Regions from separate parts of the Homo sapiens genome. Here regions 1 and 2 are each linked to region 3. Evidence: promoter capture Hi-C in 16 types of primary human blood cells and fetal thymus (Javierre and others, 2016). All regions are on one chromosome and are shown on one strand. The core of a region is centred on a gene start or on the middle of the fragment in contact, and the rest is flanking DNA. Distances in the headings are between cores, read along the strand shown.

Region 1 (2,700 bases), core at 12-2,511, about 50 Mb before region 3:
CACTGTAGTAGATACTGTCAATATTTAGGGAAGCTTTGTCATATTTACTAAATTTCATAATTTCAGAAAACTGTTTAAAACAAAGAGCAATTGATGGATAAATCAGGAATAGATTCTCTTGACCATGTGACATCTGATGCTGTGGAACTTGCAAATCGAAGGTGAGTGGATTCAATCATGTTTATTGTATCTGAATTATGAGAAACTATTGTATATAATGAGTGACAGTAAAGATAATTTTCAGGAATTGGGAAAGAAGGAAAACTAGATTTCACTGACCTTCCAAGTTTATCTAGTTACATAGATTGATATAATAGCATTGCAAATACTTTAAATTCAAAATGTGAATATATTATGGGACACATTCGTCGAGAAAAAATGTATTCTTTGGGTCATATTAGCATCTCTTCCAGACTACATCCTCCGGTTCGGTAGGCTGTGTTTGTTTTACTCAGACACTCTTAGCAGTGAACCGAACCATACAGCCTTTTGGAGCTCATACATTGTCTTGAAAGATACAGTTTTTTTGTAAGCTGAGCATAGTGGTGCATGCCATTAGTCCTAGCTAGCTACTTGGGAGGCTGAGGCAGGAGCATCCCTGGAGTTTCCAGGAGTTTGAGGTTGCAGTGAGCTGTGATTGCACCACTGCACTCCAGTCTGGGTGACAGCAAGACGATGTCTACAAAACTCTTTAATAAGAGCTGTAGCATTATGGGCTATTTAAATAGGATGATCAGTAGAAAGGCTAGCTGGTTCTGAGCCCATCCTTTAAAAAATTTTTAATTCTGGGCATGTTTTCTGAGTTGGTCTTGGAAGAAATGTACATTTAGGACTGGGTATTAATGGTAATAAGCAGTAAGAAAAGAAGATGAAATTAATTTTTTTCCCATTTTTCTAGTGATAACTCTTCTGATAGCAGCTTATTTAAAACTCAGTGTATCCCTTACTCACCTAAAGGGGAGAAAAGAAACCCCATTCGAAAATTTGTTCGTACACCTGAAAGTGTTCACGCAAGTGATTCATCAAGTGACTCATCTTTTGAACCAATACCATTGACTATAAAAGCTATTTTTGAAAGATTCAAGAACAGGAAAAAGAGATATAAAAAAAAGAAAAAGAGGAGGTACCAGCCAACAGGAAGACCACGGGGAAGACCAGAAGGAAGGAGAAATCCTATATACTCACTAATAGATAAGAAGAAACAATTTAGAAGCAGAGGATCTGGCTTCCCATTTTTAGAATCAGAGAATGAAAAAAACGCACCTTGGAGAAAAATTTTAACGTTTGAGGTGAGTCAGCATTTTACATACATGGCTACACATAACTCAAGATGCCCAAAATGATTTGTTGGCCAATTTAGAATTGTCTCAGATATACTGGGAACAGACTGTCTGCAATTTTGATACTCTTCTATACTGACTTACCCCTAAAGTCCACCCTATCCTTCAACTGAATCTTGACTTGTATCTCTTAATATAACTACACTTTGCCATATTTAAAAGATAGTGCTCCAAGGCTCTTTGTATAAAATCCTTTGATCTTATCCCATCTCAGGTCTTTAAACACAACCCTAAAACTCAGTGGGGATAATAAAAGCTCACATAACTTGAAATTACTTTTGCAGTAACCTAAACTAAAACCACACATGCCTTATGTTCAGTGGATATATTCTTAAGGCCTAGATGTTTCTAAGCCAATTATCTGAAAAATACGCTAATACTTAGGAGTAGACTTTTTTAAATATTTGAGAGTTGTATGTTGAATGAATTCAGAATTAATTTATGATCCCTTGCCAGAACCTGAAATTTTATTTGGGAGGATTAATACATGTTAATCTCTTCAGTTAATCTCTTAAGTTTAAGGTGATTATAGTAAACATTAGAAATCTTATTCCTGTTTTTACATTTTAAAATGCCTTTAGTAAGTCCCAGACATGACAAGATATGTACTTCACTTTTCCATGTTACCAGCTTAGGTAAATTCATAATTGTAATGTGAATTTTAATAATCAGCATTTGATAAGTCCACAAGTGGGGAGTAGTTAAGATAGCAAATTCAGAGTCTTTGCTAAGGGGGGGCATTGCCCTTTTTGAACATAGGCACCTGCTGGGTCTTAAAAATAAAATCTCGACATACTTATGGTGTTTTTAATATATAGCAAGCTGTTGCAAGAGGATTTTTTAACTATATTGAAAAACTGAAGTATGAACACCACCTGAAAGAATCATTGAAGCAAATGAATGTTGGTGAAGATTTAGAAAATGAAGATTTTGACAGTCGTAGATACAAATTTTTGGATGATGATGGATCCATTTCTCCTATTGAGGAGTCAACGTAAGTGGAATCATATGAAATACTTTGGTAATAGGTTATAAATTAAATTTCTATGTTAATTGCTTCATATTTTGCCTTTAATATAGTTATACTTAAATAATGAACAAAGATACAGAGTATGACAATTGGGATTATTACAGTTGAGCCAAGCTTGGCACACCGTTCATCTAGAATTCTCCAGAACACAAAATTCTCAAATTTTGTGTTTCCTTTGACTAGTATTGCAGTTTCAGTTATATTTCAGAGTGGAATATACAACTAATTAGGTCATCGAAGATTCTGTCATCTCGATGATAAATTTTAATATTACAGAGCAGAGGATGAGGATGCAACACATCTTGAAGATAACGAATGTGATATCAAATT
Region 2 (2,700 bases), core at 1-2,500, about 35 Mb after region 3:
CATTACCGCGGCCGCCGGGGTGCTTCCGGTGCTTGCCTGCAGGAATACAAAGCTACGTGGGGCCGGTGTGATGGCTCATGCCTGTAATCCCAGCATTTTAGGAGGACGAGGGGGGGTAGATCACCTGAGGTCAGGAGTTCGAGACCAGCCTGGCCAACACGGAGAAACCCCCGACTCTACTAAAAATAGAAAAAGAATTAGCCGGGCGTCGTGGCGCACACCTGTAATATCAGCTACTCGGGAGGCTGAGGCAGGAGAATCGCTTGAGCCCGGCAGGCAGGGGTTGCAGTGAGCCGAGATTTCGCCACTGCACTCCAGCCTGGGCGACAGTGATCAGTCTCACACACACACAAAAAAGCTACATGCACCACACAGCCTTCTCATGCATCTCAATACTTCCTCGCACAAAAGCAGAGTGTTTCCCAGACTTCTGTGTCCCGCTTACGCTGTTCCCACCCTACCGATGCCGGTTTTCAGCAATGCGATTACTTTAGGATTCCGGGTGAAACATCTTTTCAGGTTCCACATCACAGCATTCCCACAGTACTCCATGTCTTCAACTAACCCAATACCGTGCCTGCTCAATTCCTATTACCCCACTGATGTGAAATTCCTTAGAACTGGAATACTAGAGGATCGTCAGAAAAAAATCAACAGCTGTGCAACTTGACCACAAAAAGGTCTTATTCTAACCCACTTATAGGCTACCGATCTCCAGACTAGCTAAGCACCCGAAGAGAGCCCAAGGCCCACCCCGAGGGGAAGCCGGCACTTACCTATGCGGCCGTGGCCGTGGCTCACGTGGCCCCTAAGTTTCCGGGTCTTCCTCAGTCTGGATGGCTGTGTGGAAAAAGCTTGGTGGTAAGGCCTAAGGAATTAGGGGCAGGGGGCGATGCCCGCCAGCCGAGATGGTCCTGTAAGCCTGTGGGTCAAAGACCTAACTTCTGGAGCGTTTGGGAAAGCTGAGGGTACCGATCCGCTCAGGGCCGTGAGGTCTCACCACGGTAGCGCAGGGGCCCGCGTGTCCTAGAGATCCGAACCGCGGGCCTAACACACGGCTCCGGGAGCCCCGCCCCGGGCCCGCGCCGGCCACCCTGCCCCGCAGGCGGCCATGCGCAGCCTGGAAGCCCCGACCATGGTAGGGAGTGGATGACTAGGGGCAATGGGAATACAGCTTAGGGGTCTCCGCCGGCAAGGAAGAGGAGGCAAGAAACGAAACACCTACCATGTTGGCAGCCCAGACGAAAAAGGAAGGCCTTCGCCAAGTCTCGCGAGGTATCGGCCACGGGGGCGGGGCAAAACGCCTCACTTCCGGTCACAGAGGCCGGGCTTCGGGCGGGGCCTCCTGGTCTCGCGGGATTGCGCGCCTGCTAGTCGCTTCCTCTTTCTGAGGGTGGTGATCCCCCATCACGGAGTGTCCTGGTGGCGGTGTACGGTTTCGGTGAGGCTCGTTGTGCTAGGCTCGGAGGGCGAGAACTGTTGAAGAATCGGGGCTAGGTGTGCTGTACTGCACGCCGCCCGTGCTTGCTTGAGCCAGGCCCTTTTCTGGCGCCTTGGTCAGGGAACCGCCTAAGCCGACCCTAAGGGCCTCGTTGTCTGAGCTCCTCACCAAATGCGCCAGCCCTGAGCCGCCCCGCGCACCTCCACAGTTCTTAGTGGTCTGCCCGGGGCTGGTGATAGTGGCTACTGGTTTGTCTCCCGGCCGCAGTGCGGAACCGCGAGGCCCTCTTTAATCCTCAGTGTGCCCACCTGGTGTCTCGCTCGGTTTCCTGAAGCTCGGGCGGCTCCCGAAATGCCTTCTCCCGCTCTCACACTTCTGAGTGGGCACTGCAGCTTCCTTTCTCTTTTGCCCTTTTGCTATCATTTGGTTGTCCTCTCAAGTTTGAGCAACTTAAATTGCTTCAGGGACTTAGATGCCTGGTTGCTTTATGGTCCTTTTAATGCAGATGTTGTAAATACTTTTTCTAAATGCCACATTTAGGCCAGGCGCGGTGGCTCACACCTGTAGTCCCAACACTTTGGGAGGTCGAGGCGGGAGGATTTCTTGAGGCGAGTAGTTCAACACCAGCCTGGGCAACATAGTGAGACCCTCGTCTCCACATACAAAAGTAAATAAGTAAAAATAAATGCTATTTTTGAATTTTCTCCAGAATCTACATAACACGCCTGTGACCCTTTCCTGGACACAATGCAGACAGTTGCTCGCTTCCCCACCTGTACCACCACACAATCTAGTATAACCCTTATGTAATTTATTGACCTACGTTTGTCTTCCCTACTAGACCTAATTCCTTATGTGGTCAAGGACTGTTTTTTTTAATCCACACTCAACTAGTGATTGTTGAGTGAATAAATGAACTTACCCTCACCTCCCTGTCTTCGCTAATAGCAGCATGTCTTCGCTCTTAAGTCGGTTCCTTCAACCAGTGTTCAAGATCCCATCCCCTCGCTAGTCTATTAATAGATCCCATGGGAAAAATGAAATAAATTTTTAAAATCCCATCCCCTCAGTTATTCTCTGTGTGTATGTGTGAGCGTGTATTTATTTATTTTTCTTTGTCTTGCCCCCTTCAGCTAAAATATATTTTAGCTAAAATATCCAAAATTCTGGCCGGGCGTGGTGGCTTACTTCTGTAATCCCAGCACTTTGGAAGGCCGAGGCGGGCGGATCACGAGGTCAGGAGATCGAGACCATCCTGG
Region 3 (2,700 bases), core at 128-2,627:
CAATAGGAACACGGTCTTTTCTTAGATATGCTGAAAACCACTCATGAATACCTAGGCGGATTTTTAGTTATACTTAACTTACTTGAGATAGAATTTGCAATTACATTACACGGCAAATCTAAATCTAAACCTCACCTTAAACGTTGGAATGTGTTCCTATCATGATTCATTACACACAATCCAAAGGACCAGTAATTTCCCACCACACTAGTTAAAACGTTTTAGATCAGTGGGCTAAATTGCATGGGGCACACAATTCACTTTCTAAATGTTTGCTAGACACTTCAAGATTGTCCTCAAGTGTTCGAAGTCAGTAAGTTTACCAATATTCTGTAGCGGAACACACACACGCACTCGTTAGGCATCAGCAGCATTTACAAAACGCAGGCAATCATAAAGTTATATAAGAAAAGCAGTCTCGCCTCTGAGGAATTAGTTCAGGCATACAAGAATCCAGGAAATCGCATATCCTCCATGCGAGGCTGGGTCACAAGAACTAGGTAAAGAAACAAAGCAAAGTGCACTGGGAAACGAGGGCAGTAACAGCTGAAAAGATGCAGGCAACGCCACCAGCGGCATCTTCAAGCATTCCTTCTGAAGGGGAGTGTTTCTATGTTGTTTCTAATGAGCCACTGCTGACCTGAGTAACGGTACAAGCTGAAACCAACACAACCAGAAACGAAATCCACCATGTGGTAGACGAGACTAGGGGAGCAGCACGAATGGTCCACAGGCTAGGGGTCCAGAAGCTGTCATACCATGGGACTCGCGCACACCCTGGAGCTGCCACCTGCTTTCTATTTCCTCGGGGAGGGCCGGTGACGCGTGAACCCGAGAGGCACCAAAGGCAGGAATCCTGAAATCTGTGATTTCTAAACCCCGAGCTAAAAAAAGGTCCGTAGGGCCCGTCTCCCGCAGCTGGGCGACTCTTCCCCACGCGGCGCGCGGCCCGCGAGGTGGAAGGGTGAGAACTTCTAGGGGGCCAAACGAGGACCAGGAGACAAGTGGGGAGCGGGAAGTGCCTGCCTGGTCCGAATGCAGGGAGTCCGAGGTCGCGGTGCCACCTCCCTGTGAGGGTAGGCTGGGGGCGGGGCCGCGCGGAGCCCAACAGCCAGGGGCCAAGCAGGGTAATCCCCCCGGGGCGAGGGCGGGCACGGGAGAAGAGGGACGCCCCGGCCGCTACCTGCTGCTGGATTTTCCCGTCCTCCGTGACGACCCAGTGCGTGGTGGCGAAGGCCCCTCGTGCCGCCACACTCAGCAAGGCGGAAAGGCTGAGGAGCCAGCCTGGGCCGGAGCAAGGCGGCAGCTCGTACCGGCCACGAACCCCTACTGCCGCCGCCATCTTGCCCCCCCGGCCGGGCCGCTCACACCGGAAGCGGAAGCTAGTCTCCGGCGCCCGCCATCTTGAAGAGGTCGGCCCTGGAGGAGGAGCAGGAGGAGGAGCCGAGAGGGCGTAGCTCGCTGACTACCAAGTTTCCTCCACCTCGGTTTTGGCGGCCAGGAAGCGCGACCTTCGGCTACTCTCCCAGCTTGGCTTCAGGGATGGAGACCGCTTTTTAGTTATTGTTTTTCTGTGGGTGATACGATCTCGGAGCGTGGGAACCGGAGGGAGACAAAAGCAGTGGCTTAGGTGGCGCTTAAGCAGAAGTGAAAGGACTCAATTTTATTGTTTTTTAAATCTTTGTTTTTTCGTTTTATTTCTGGTAGATAGTTGGGGAACAAAAGGTGTGCTTTCGAACCACCTATGGGAAGAGAGGTGTTGCTTTTATTCTTAAAGTCTCACAATAGTGGAAGCTTCAGAATGGAGACGGTTGTTAGTTTAGGGCACCGCTGTCCAGTAGCACTATAATGCGAGCCACGTGTGGAATGTAAAATATAGAGGGAAGTAACCCTACTAGTACATTTTATTTAACTCAAAGTACACAAAATATTAATTCAATGTGGTCTGTACAAATCATTGAGATAGTTTAGTTTTTTTTTTTTTAACTAAGTCTTGGAAATCGGCATGTTACACTGACAGCTTATCTAGTCATATTTCAGGGGCTTAATACCCGCATGTGGCTAACGTACTGGTCAGCACAGGTCTAAGCTAGAGGTCTAGGTCTGGAGACCAGAAACATTGGCATCACCTGGGAGCTTTTTAGACCTGCACATTCTCGGCTCTTCTCCCTCTCCCCCGCAACCTGCTGAATCAGACTACATTTTAACAATAGCCTCAGGTGACTGGTATACATATTAAAGTTTGAGAACCACTTTCTTCTAGTGAACCAACAGGCAGGCAGGCAGGCGTCAAGCTTGGCTGCCAGCTTCTTGCTAGATATGTCATTTTAGGTCTTTCAAGATTGCCCTCTGTGTGTGTTATTTAAGGTTGGTATGCTTTTGGTTTTCTCCTTGGGAAAAGAAGGATGAGAATATTGTTTAACCACTTCTCTACACAAGTGTATGCAGGAGAGCAGTTGCTAAGTGTTTAAACACCACGCTATAGAAATGTAGAAACAACCACAGCATTGGTGTTTTTTTTTTCTTCATTCCAGGAACAGCTTTTCTTAAAGGCCTGAAGACTGAACATTCATTTCATTAAAAATATATGGCTTATTTGCTTTTTGCCTGGTACTCTGATAGTCTCTGGGTATGGAAATGTAACCATTGGGCAGTGTGCAATATAGTGAGATATTATTGGCAGGTTAACAATTAAAATAC

What was found. The method cuts DNA at HindIII sites, captures the fragments that hold promoters and counts their contacts. A CHiCAGO score of 5 or more calls a contact.
Region 1: a contact is called between a fragment that was not itself captured here and the fragment with the promoter of TTC17 in region 3, in 1 of 17 cell types (activated CD4 T cells). The highest score is 12.4, in activated CD4 T cells.
Region 2: the fragment with the promoter of RPL27A here is called in contact with the fragment with the promoter of TTC17 in region 3 in 1 of 17 cell types (non-activated CD4 T cells); the score reaches 5.7 in non-activated CD4 T cells.

Annotation. Positions count from the first base shown.
Region 1 is chr11:93,736,698-93,739,397 of GRCh38, reverse strand. TAF1D (TATA-box binding protein associated factor, RNA polymerase I subunit D) reads left to right here. Exons shown (of 6, transcript NM_024116.4): 2 at 67-161; 3 at 899-1,289; 4 at 2,159-2,334; 5 at 2,647-2,700. The coding sequence starts at 94. Among named protein-coding and RNA genes, the nearest start is that of SNORA40, 2.8 kb to the right of the region's middle. RefSeq lists an enhancer at 281-1,480. The HindIII fragment of the contact is 2,451 bases long and covers 36-2,486 here.
Region 2 is chr11:8,681,342-8,684,041 of GRCh38, reverse strand. RPL27A (ribosomal protein L27a) reads right to left here and starts at 1,250. Exons shown (of 5, transcript NM_000990.5): 1 at 1,226-1,250; 2 at 777-840; 3 at 1-36. The coding sequence starts at 1,228. TRIM66 (tripartite motif containing 66) reads left to right here and starts at 1,377. Exons shown (of 25, transcript NM_001388022.1): 1 at 1,377-1,441. RefSeq lists enhancers at 329-971, 1,298-1,487, 1,688-1,757, 621-1,820 and a silencer at 978-1,177. The HindIII fragment of the contact is 2,972 bases long and covers 857-2,700 here.
Region 3 is chr11:43,357,597-43,360,296 of GRCh38, reverse strand. It overlaps TTC17 (tetratricopeptide repeat domain 17), which reads right to left and starts at 1,377. Exons shown (of 24, transcript NM_018259.6): 1 at 1,184-1,377. The coding sequence starts at 1,342. RefSeq lists a silencer at 1,039-1,118 and an enhancer at 1,249-1,518. The HindIII fragment of the contact is 2,829 bases long and covers 1-1,796 here.